3 separate regions of the Homo sapiens genome follow, and regions 1 and 2 are each linked to region 3. The links are contacts of gene promoters, found by promoter capture Hi-C in blood cells and fetal thymus (Javierre and others, 2016). All regions are on one chromosome and are shown on one strand. Each heading gives the region's core, a stretch centred on a gene start or on the middle of the fragment in contact. The rest is flanking DNA. Distances are from core to core; before and after follow the strand shown.

Region 1 (3,668 bases), core at 866-3,365, 530 kb after region 3:
ATAGAAGTGTCAATAACCAAACAGTATGACTGCCTCTCACATGAGTCTTTAATACTTAAGATTTTTTTCAGCTTTGTGAACATTTTGAGAAAGTACTTTTGATACAAATAGTGGTTAATAAATAATACCATTGATCTTCTTATTTTTAAGTAAGATTATCTTTAGTATATATAATTAAACATGAAGAAGCTAGCACAGTGGCCTCCAAAATGTAGTACACACACCCCAGAAGTTACACAGCTCACTCTATTGAAGTATAAGAAATATATGAAAATTACATTGACATTTGCTTTCAAGTCTCACTTTTTTAATGTACTTTTTTGTGTACATTTTATTATGCATGTAGTACAGTAGTATACTAAAAAGGACTATATACTTGTCTTTGCCTGTGGGATGCAGGATCTGAAAAGTATTGATATCAGCACTATAACATTATTGGGCTAATTATAAATTCATAGAGAGGCCAGGCACAGTGGCTCACACTTGTAATCCCAGCACTTTGGGAGGCCGAGGCGGGCGGATCATGAGGTCAGGAGTTCGAGACCAGCCTGACCAACACAGTGAAACCCCGTCTCTACTAAAAATACAAAAATTAGCTGGGCGTGGTGGCGGGTGCCTGTAATCCCAGCTACTTGGGAGGCTGAGGCAGGAGAATCTCTTGAACCCGGGAGGCGGAGGTTGCAGTGAACCGAGATCATGCCACTATACTCTAGCCTGGGCAACAGAGCTAGACTCCATCTCAAAAAAATTTAAAAATTAAAAAAAAATTAGCCGGGCATAGTGGCAGGTGCCTGTAATCCCAGCTATTCGGAAGGCTGAGGCAGGAGAATTGCCTGAACCTAGGAGGCAGAGGTTGCAGTGAGCCAAGATCGCACCACTGCACTCCAGCTTGGGCAATAGGGTGAGACTCTGTCTCAAAAAAAAAATAAATAAATTCATAGAAATATAAACTAAAGAATTGTCGACTTAAGATCTGAATGATATACCAACCATTTTTTAGCAGATCACTTACCCTTCAGTATCTTAGTTCTTTTACCTTTATAAGGGGTATAACTGTTCCTTCCAACTTAAACTGGGCGGGCATCAATATCAGTGGTCTGATTGGCCTGGTTTGGTCAGGGATAAGGCATCTCTAAGGACATCAGAGTCCTCCTTGTATGGATGAGAAAGAAAATTATATCTGTCCTTAGTGTGGTTAGTATTGTCACATTATGGCGACATCCTCCAGGCGCTCAGCTCTTGAGGGAAATGGATGAGTTGAGGCTACAGAATTGCGCCTTGGCCCATTCAGAGGTCAGGGGATGTTTTCTTTTGACACATGAAATATGCATCTCCCTTCCTGAACCCAGCATCCACCCATCTAGTGTTGCTACTTTGCCTTAAGCCCAGTGGGAAGGACAGGGGAACACAGTGAAAGGGGACACAGTTGTCTGGTGTGATTGCCCTAACCCAGCTCAAGAAGAAAAGTAATATATAATACTAAATTTAGTAATACTGTCATTGCATATTACTATGTAGTGCCCAGTGAAAGTCAGACTTAACAATCACTGTACAGGTAGTATGCTGACATTTGGCATTGTAGTGTCATTGCTGACTTGATTTCTTAATATGTCCTTCTACTCATAATTAATGTAATAACTCACATTTGTATAGTATTTTATGATTTATCTTATTTGTTTTTCACAACCCTGTAATGAATTTTGCAAATATTTTTATACTTGTTTTGCAGGTAAGGAAACTGAGGCTGCAAAGGTTAAGTGATTTGCCTGAGGTCATAGTAGATAGTCAATGGCAAAGCTGTGACTTAAACCTAGATACTGTCATTCCAAACCCCAGGCCCTTCCTGCATTAATCCTCACTTGCCTTAAACCCATCTCAAAGTCAATAACCCTGACTTCACGAATATATTCTTTACTTGGTTTTATTGCTTTTATACCTTAATTTTATGAGGGTTTTTTTTGTTTGTGTGTGTATGTTTTTATTACTTAGAGGTGTCGTGGAATATGATGCAGAAGGCTTTACAAAACTCACTCTGCTGCTGATGTGGAAAGATTTTTGTTTTCTTGTACACAGTGAGTATACTTTTGCTGTCAGCATGTCAGCATACATTTTTAAATGTCCTAAACCACATGTAATAATCAGTACTAGAACCTTTTCTGTCCTGTCTCGGTTCCTTTTACTGTAGCGTATATATATATTTATTGTGGGATATTAAGGAGAAAATATCTCTAGGCCGGTGGTTCTCAACCACTGGAGCAATTTTGCACCTCAGGGGACGTTTGGCAATGCCTGGAGACATTTTTGATTGTTATGACTGAGGGGGTGGGGATTTGCTACTGGCATCTAATGGGTAGAGGTCAGTGATGCAGCTAAACATCCTACAATGCACATGACAGCCCCTCACACACACACACAAAAAATTATTGAATGCAAAATCTCAGTATTGCCAAGCTAGAGAAACCTTACCCTAAACAGATTCTGTTTCTAATTATCTTTCCAGTATCAGGCCTCAAGACTTTTGGTATTATTGGAAACATACCTGCTGTGATCATTTGGTTATCATCCTTATTCAATGAAAAGTCTACAACTTTGATAAAATGTAATACATAACTTAAAGATGGGGTAATGTTTTAATGTATCCCCAACATCATTTCTTCATGTTCTTCTGCGTAGTAGGCATACCTAATGGTGGTTGTCACATATTAATCCATCAGTCTGTAAACATCGACCCAGCTTTCTCTTGATAGATAATTTAGAGTCTTTTTATTTCCTGATTATGTAAGAACCAGTGACCCATGGAGTCAGGTTCAAGTTGCAAGTCAACTGAGACCTTCATTCTGCAGTAATTTGGTACGTACAATGTTCAGTCTTCAGGCCAAGGCAAAGGAGCCAACTTTCCCAGCTTGAGTTAGAGAAAAGCAGTGGGTTTGAATTGACTTCACTCAAACCCATGGCTTTTAGAACTTACCCTATGCCTTAATAAACTACTGCAGGAGGAATAACTTTGGCTGTATTTAGCCAAGGCATCAGACAGTGTAAAGATACTGACTTTAAGGGATTTTTCTTCTGCAGCAGATTTACCTTCTTCGTTATGATTTGCTTTGGTTAAAATAGTTCTTAAGTTCATTTTTCTATCTGATTACACACCAATAGATAGTAAGGGCAGAAACCAAAAAAACATCCATAGTGGCAGAAAGAAGAAAACGTCTAAGTAAAACCTTATCATGGTAAAATTCATATAGAGATGATCGAGCGCAGGCCACAGTTTTAAGGAGATGGGCCTCTCTGCCTTGAGGTGTTGCCCAACAATCACCACTTTTCAAGGTGTCAGGCACCTTGTCACCATCATAACCTACAGTGTGGGGCCAGGTAAGGAGGAAGCCCCACAATCAAGGCCTCCTGGCAATCTCCTCTTTGCTCAGTGTCTTCGATGGCCCTACTAATCTGAGCCTAACACTGGTACTGCAGCCACCACTTTTGATTCTGACCTTATATATCCTTGCTTTGGTTTGGCATTCTGTGGCTTAATTCCTTTGTGAAATCTCACTTCCTATTTGCTGTATTCACTTTACCTTACGACCTTGGTCCCAGTGATTCTTTCTGTAACCTGATGACCCAACGGCAGATCTTGATTGCTTCCTTAATTTATTCATATCTCTTGTGACTTG
Region 2 (3,361 bases), core at 527-3,026, 770 kb after region 3:
CTGCCTCAGCCTCCTGAGTAGCTGCGACCTCAGGCACACAACACCACGCCTGGCTAATTTTTGTATTTTTTGTAGAGATGGGGTCTTGCTATGTTGCCTGGGCTGATCTTGAACTCTTGGGCTCAAGCGATCCTCCCACCTTGGCCTCCCAAAGTGCTAGGATTACAGGTGTGAGCCACCACACCTGGCAGGATAGACTTTACAGAAGCAATTAAAAGCACACTGAGTATTGGAGGAGAAGTGCAGGGGGCCAGAGGAGCATGAGGTCAGGGCATCTCTTTCACTAGGCCAGAGAAGGCCCATTGTAGGAAGAAATATTTCAACTGAGACCAGAAGGAGAATTAGGGAGGTCAAGAGGTGGGAAGGGTACTGACACAGTCTGAGAGTTCTGGGCAGAGGGAACAGCACACATTAGGGCTGCCAGGATGCAAAAAGGATGACATTTTTAAGAATATGATGGAGCCTCAGTGAGCCTGAGGTCAGAGAAGATGGGCCAAGTGGGACTTGAAGCTGGAGAGAGGAGGGAGCACAGGGCCTTGTAAGTGACACTACAATGGCTGGACTTGATCTGCAGGGCAGTGGGAAGCTGGTGAGGGTTTTATACAAGGGTGTGACATCAGGTTTGCCCTTTGACAAGATTGTTCAGGCTGTTGTGTGTGAAAACGAAAAGACTGGAACAAGCGTGTGTAGACATGGAGCAGCTGGGCAGCTGTTCAGGGGAGCAGGGACAGATGCCTGGGCCCATCTGGGGGCAGTGGAGATGGAGAACAGTGAGTGGTTTCATGAGCCACTTTTGTCATATCCGATGGGGCTACAAATGAGTCAGGGAAGATCATATGTTTGGTTCTTAACTCCTTGAGTTTGAGGTGCCTCTGAAACATCAAAGTGGAGACTTAGTCCATGAATGAGTTTATGGGGTTTGAAGCTTAGAAGAGAGGTCCGACTGGAAATTGAAATGGGGGAATGGTCAACATAGATTTTTAAGTAAACAATGGGGTGTATGTGGTCACCTTGAGAGACAGGTAGAAAGAGGAGGCTCCAGACGAACTTCAGCAGCAGAGAAGGAGCTGGCAAAGGAGGCCAAGAAGGAACTGCTGGAGAGAAGAAACCAGGAAACTGGAAGCCTGGAGGCCAAGGGCAAGTTGTCCAAGAGTAGGGGCCGAGGTTGGCTGTGAAATGCTGCTGAGATGGCAAGTAAGATGAGGTCTGAGGACCTCATTGTTTATTGGATTGAACAAATTACTGACCTTCAAGCAATTCTAGTAGTGTGGTGGGAGCAGAAGCCACATTGAAGGGTAGGGACAAGTAAGCAGAAGGTGTTTTAGAAAGGTCACCCTGGTGATGGATGCTGACCCGGAAGGGATTGTACACAAATTCAGGTAAGAAATGTTAAGGTGCACAGAACTCAGAGTCTCAGGATGACTAAGGAAACATGGATCTCAAGGTCAACAGAGAGGAACAATTGGAAACTTGGTCTGAGCAGCTCTGTCTCAGAAGCAAAGAAGAAAGTGAGTAGGAGGTAGAAGGAGGCATCCAGGCTTCCCACAGAGACCACGCTGAGATTCCAGCCACTCTCTGGAGAGCCGTGTCCCTGGATGCTCCTCCTCCCACATACTCCTAGAAGGCCTCTGAGAGTCAGTTAAGGACCATACCCAACTGAACAAAAGTGATGCGGTGTTGTGTCTTGGGTTAAGAGACACAAGTTTTTGCTGCACAAAAACTGGATTGAAAATCTGGCTTTCCCACCCGCTCTCTGTGTGGCAAGTTTCTAAACATTTTTGTGGATTATAAGACAGAGTCTGTTTCAGAAAGATTGTACTATGAAAATATGCAGGGATTAGAATGGAGAAGATGTGGAATTTGAAAATTCTGTTTCCTCAAGTTTTCTCTTTGGGTGCTAACCTTGCAGTTACAAACAAAGCCCTTACCGAATCCATGAAGGAAGAGAGGAACAGGGCATGGCGGCTCATGCCTGTAATCCTAACACTTTGGGAGGCTGAGGTGGGTGGATGGTTTGAGCACAGGAGTTCGAGATCAGTCTGGGCAACATGGTGAAACCCCGTCTCTATAAAAAATACAAAAATTAGCCTGGCATGGTAGCACACACCTGTGGTCCCAGGTACTTTGGAGGTTGAGGTGGGAGGATGGATTGAACCCAGGAGGCAGAGGTTGCAGTGAGCCAAGTGAGCCAAGATTGAGCCACTGCACCCTAGCCTGGGTGACAGAATGAGACCCTGTCTCAAAAAGAAGAACGAGAAGGAGGAGGAGAAGGAGGAGAAGGAGGGGGAGGGGAGGGGGAGGGGAGGGGGAGGAGGGGAAGGAACAGGAGGCTGCAATGTCAGCTAGTGGTGCCCAGAGGCAGAGGTGGTAGGCAGTCCCTCAGGATGGAGCCAGCTGAGATGGTAAACTCAGGGCTGTGCCCAGTCCAGCTCGATGTCCCTATGGCTGGAGGTCAGCACAGATCTCTCTACCTAGCCAGGCCTAGTGGCCAGTCTGCATCAGGGCCCTGGGGACAGACGCCAGTCCCAGTCTCACCTCATCTTCTCCTGCCTACTCTTATACCACCACCCTCTCCCCAGGGAGTGCCATCAAGGTAAATAGTGGGACTGCGTAGCTGGGAGAGCAAGCAAGCTTGCACATCATTGCCAAAGCTATTAACACCCACGTGCCAGTGTCTGATGATGTTGACAGCTCAGCCCCAACAAGCTGATGACACCATGCCATGCCATCCCATGCCACGCCACCTCAATCCCCTGTTACACAGCCAAAGGCTCAGAGGCCCATTCCAGAGTGACTGCAGTGAGGATAAAGAGATTTCCCCAGCTGGTAAGTTGCCATGGCTGGGGCTAGAAAGGCTGTCTTTCCTCCCTGGACCCCTTGTCCAGTGGAAGCTTTTCTGGGCAGATGATCTCCTCTGAACACAGGCCAGGGGGATATATGGGGTCAGTGCCTGATGCTTGGGGCTGTTGGAGCCAGGAGCCTCCCATTGTGGTCTGGAGCACATGAGATTCCCAGGGAAAGACTAGGAGCCTTTGGTTATTTCTTTTGGATTTGAAGGACAGATTATAGCTCCCATGGACAGAATGCAAAGGGAATTAAGTGAGGGAAAGATTAGCCCCATAGCAGGTGGTCCTACAGGATCCCCCTGGTGGGCAGAGCATCAAATTTCACAACACTTCTCTCCCCAGAGCCATCTCCTGGCCCTGCCACGTGGGACCAGGACACAGGGGATTTCAGCTCTAAAAGATCCAGGGAAGTTTCTCCCATGTACCAGGACCCAGCAGCCATACTAGCCTGTCTCCATGGGACCCCCCTCCCCAGAATGGAGATGGAGTGGACATGGGTTTTATGCGGTATCTGC
Region 3 (3,474 bases), core at 374-2,873:
CTCCAAAGCCTGAGGCAGGAGAATGGCATGGACCCGGGAGGCGGAGCTTGCAGTGAGCCGGGATCAAGCCACTGCCCTCCAGCCTGGGCAACAGAGTGAGACTTCGGTCTCAAAATAAATAAATAAATAAACAAAATAAATATAAATAAATAAATAAATAAAAACGACCACAAAACTTTATTGGATGCTGCCCACCATGAGGGGCAACAGACAAGTGTGAGTTACTCAAAAAAAGTAAACTAGGCCTTCTCCTTTGACAGGGAGGTGCATTTGAAAGGTGCCTCCCTGTGCACTGACTCACTTAGTCTTGTGAGGGAAGCTTTATTACAATTCCCCATTGCACAGATGAAGTTGGGGCTCAGGGAGGCCAAGGGAATGAAACTACTAAGTATGTAATTGGAACCCAAGTCTCCTGGAATCCAAATGCAGTGTCCTTTCGCTACCAGATGCCAGCAGGACCCAGGTAATGAACTAGGCCAGAGACCTGAAGAGCAGGCCAGCTACCAATGTGACCTCTATCTGCCCACTTGGGGGTGAGATCCTTACCCATACAAAGACAGTTTTAAAATTGATTAAATGTAATGAGGCCGGGGCTGGGGCAGGCTGGCTCACGCCTGTAATCCCAGCACTTTGGGAGGCTGAGGAGGGCGGATAGCTTGAGGTCAGGAGTTTTGAGACCAGCCTGGCCAATATGGTGAAATCCCATCTGTACCAAAAATGTAAAAATTAGCTGGGTGTGTTGGCGCAGGCCTGTAGTCCCAGCCACTCGGGAGGCTGAGGCAGGAGAATCGCTTGAACCCGGGAGGCGGAGGTTGCAGTGAGCGGAGATTGCGCCACTGCACTCCAGACTGGACGACAGAGCAAGACTCTGTCTCAAAAAACAACAAACAAACAAACAAAAGTAAAGAGGCCGATAGAGGGAGAGGAGACCGAGACGTAGGGAGCAGTGAGTCGGTTTGGGATGAGACTGGCAGGAGCAGGCAGATACAGTATTCGACCTCGGAGCTGGGCTTTTAGCCTGGGGTCCTGGCGCCCCTAGAGTGTCAGGAGGTGAGGGCCTGAAGCTACAGGCAGAATCCCAGTGTCTGTGTGGGCCGTGGGCTTGCTCTGGACACTCTGGGGACAGGATGCAAGGCCGTCATCAGATTCTCAAAGGGGCCCGTGTCCAGAAAAAAAACGTGTTAAACCTCCGATATGGAAGCATCTGCAGTCCCCTGCCCGGACCGGGGACACCATGGTGCAATGTATCCCTGTCCCCGTCACTTTTTCTAAATCTTTGCCTAGAAATCCCTCGTGCTGGACTCTTTCACCCTGCACGGGGGAGAAGCCCTCCTCCCGGGAGCCTGTTTGGGGGGCAGGCCTGGCCGAGTGGCTCCGTGAAGACGCAGGCGCGGCCGGAGGGCGCGGGGCTCGGGCAGGATCGCGCCGCCGGGCCGGGAGGGGGCTGCGGGCGCGCGGCGGATGTCACGGCTTACCTCAGAGCCCAAATTAGAAGGCTGAAAAAATCACAGCAGGAAATAATGTGCTGCCTAAAATAGAAGCATCAACTGGGAGAGAGGCCGGGGAGTAGGTGGCATCTGAGGCTCCCGCCGCGTCCTCCCCAGCGGCTGCCTGACGCTGCATCGGAGGCGCGTGGGTGGCGCCCGGCCAGAGGGGCCCAGAGGCCGGGGCGGCCCGGGGCGGGAGGAGGCGAGAGCAGGGCACCCTCCCTCCGCCCCCTCCCCCCTCCCCACACCCCTTCCCTCTTCCTCTCTTTCCCTCCCCTACGGCCCCCACCTCCCCCCACCCCGACCCGCTCCCCCGACACCTGGGCTGGTCCTCCCGGATCCACTCCTCTCCCACACTCCCTCACCTCCCCCCTCCCTCCCCCTGCCCACGCCCCACATACCTGGGCTCCTGCCCCTTCCACCCCTCTCTGCTCCCTCCCTGCCCCCTTCCCTTCCTCCCCTCCCCTTTATCTCACCTTCACCCCCTTTCCTCCTACACCCCTTCCGTGTCCCCACCCCCTGCCCTCAGTCCTCCTTCCTCCTCTTCCCCACATCCCACCTCTCCTTTCCCCCTCCTTGTAGGCCCTCTTTCTCCTCAGCCCCCCTCCCCCCGCCTTTAGTCTCCTACCTCCCCTACAGCCTCCTGCCCCCGCCTCCTCACAGCCCCCTACTTACCCTACTGCCTCCCTCCTGGGGCCCTTTCCTCCCCAAGGGCCCCTCTGTTTTCTCCCATTCCAGCCCCTGACCAGGCCCTGCTCCTCTGCTGGGGTCGGCCCCGCACAGTAAGCTGCCTGGGAGCCCTCATTGCCTTCCTGGGCAACCCGGCCAAAGGCCCCCCGAGCAGCTGCAGCCCTGGAGGTCAGCCTCACCCTGGCAGACCGCAGGGGCCCCTCCTCACCGCCGACCTCTGCACCTTCACCCGTTTGCCTGGTGTCTGAGGAAGGGCCCGCAGGAAGAGCATTCCTTTCCCAGGGTCTTCCTCAGGAGGGATGAGAGGAAGCAAAAGCTTGGTCTGCAAACGGGCTGGTCCTCCCGACGGCCACATCCGCAGGAATGACCCTCAGAGGGGCTCCCCAACTGGCTGGGAGATTCGTCCAGCTGGGCGCTCTGCTACACAGCCCCGTCAAGGGCAAACAGGCATGTACTTAAATGATAAGGGGCGGCCCTTACAGAGCGTGTATATGTGCATATTAGCTCCTTCAAGCCTCACAGCTCCGTAAGCTAGGCACTGTTATTATCCCCATATTATAGATGACAAAACTGAGACACAAAAGATGAATCAGCTTGGCAGTGTTCACAGAGCCAGCGTGTGGAAAAGCCAGAATCCAGACCCAGACCCGAACTGCAGCGTCCCGGCTCTTACCCCTAACCAGCCAGTGCCTCTCAGCTTAGTGCTCTTCCACCCGGCTTTTCTTTCTAAAAAGTGAGTTTCGTCTTTGTTGTTTGTTTGTTTTTGTTTTTTTCTGAAAGTAAGCATGAAGCATTACAGGTGCTTGGAGATTTTCAGTTTTTAAAAATCTGATATTTTTACTTCTCTGGGTGTTTCCCCTGCCAGCTGTTGCTCTCCTGAAAACCGTCTCGCTCATTTTTGCCGGTTCCCAGTGCTGTGCGTCCTCATCGCATTGGTTCGTGCTCCAGGGCCCTGCCCACGCACATATGTGCTGCACTCCTTCCCTCCTGCCTCCTGCCTCTGTGTTGCCCTGGGGCTAACAGCTTATGACTTGCCAAACAGAATCATAAGGAGAGGTGTGTGGCTGATGTGGCATCACGCAGGCTTGGAAAGGCCACTTGTTATTGGGATAAGCAGTAGGAAATAGTGGCTGAGATTGTGAGTAGGGGAGTAGAGGCCTCCACAGACTAAAAGAAATGTCAGAATAAAATAATAATATAGCTAATATTCATGAATACTTACTAAATGCAAGGCTTTGTGCTAAGTATTTTCCAGGAATTATTTCACTTAAGTGACATAATAACCCTATGACATTGA

The links. Contacts are between HindIII fragments. The CHiCAGO score rates a contact against its expected background, and 5 or more counts as called.
Region 1: a contact is called between a fragment that was not itself captured here and the fragment with the promoter of LINC01460 in region 3, in 1 of 17 cell types (activated CD4 T cells). The highest score is 5.0, in activated CD4 T cells.
Region 2: a fragment that was not itself captured here is called in contact with the fragment with the promoter of LINC01460 in region 3 in 4 of 17 cell types (erythroblasts, M0 macrophages, M1 macrophages and 1 more); the score reaches 7.4 in erythroblasts.

Annotation. Positions count from the first base shown.
Region 1 is chr2:28,242,791-28,246,458 of GRCh38, forward strand. BABAM2 (BRISC and BRCA1 A complex member 2) reads left to right here. Exons shown (of 12, transcript NM_199191.3): 10 at 1,990-2,072. Among named protein-coding and RNA genes, the nearest start is that of BABAM2-AS2, 66 kb to the right of the region's middle. The HindIII fragment of the contact is 4,949 bases long and covers 1-3,668 here.
Region 2 is chr2:28,485,910-28,489,270 of GRCh38, forward strand. No RefSeq gene overlaps it. Among named protein-coding and RNA genes, the nearest start is that of PLB1, 8.5 kb to the right of the region's middle. The HindIII fragment of the contact is 1,706 bases long and covers 924-2,629 here.
Region 3 is chr2:27,714,109-27,717,582 of GRCh38, forward strand. It overlaps LINC01460 (long intergenic non-protein coding RNA 1460), which reads right to left and starts at 1,624. Exons shown (of 2, transcript NR_135200.1): 1 at 1,476-1,624. LOC105374378 (a long non-coding RNA gene) reads left to right here and starts at 2,015. Exons shown (of 3, transcript NR_160725.1): 1 at 2,015-2,624; 2 at 2,739-2,910. RefSeq lists a silencer at 1,311-1,720 and enhancers at 1,914-2,428, 2,429-2,942. The HindIII fragment of the contact is 2,174 bases long and covers 318-2,491 here.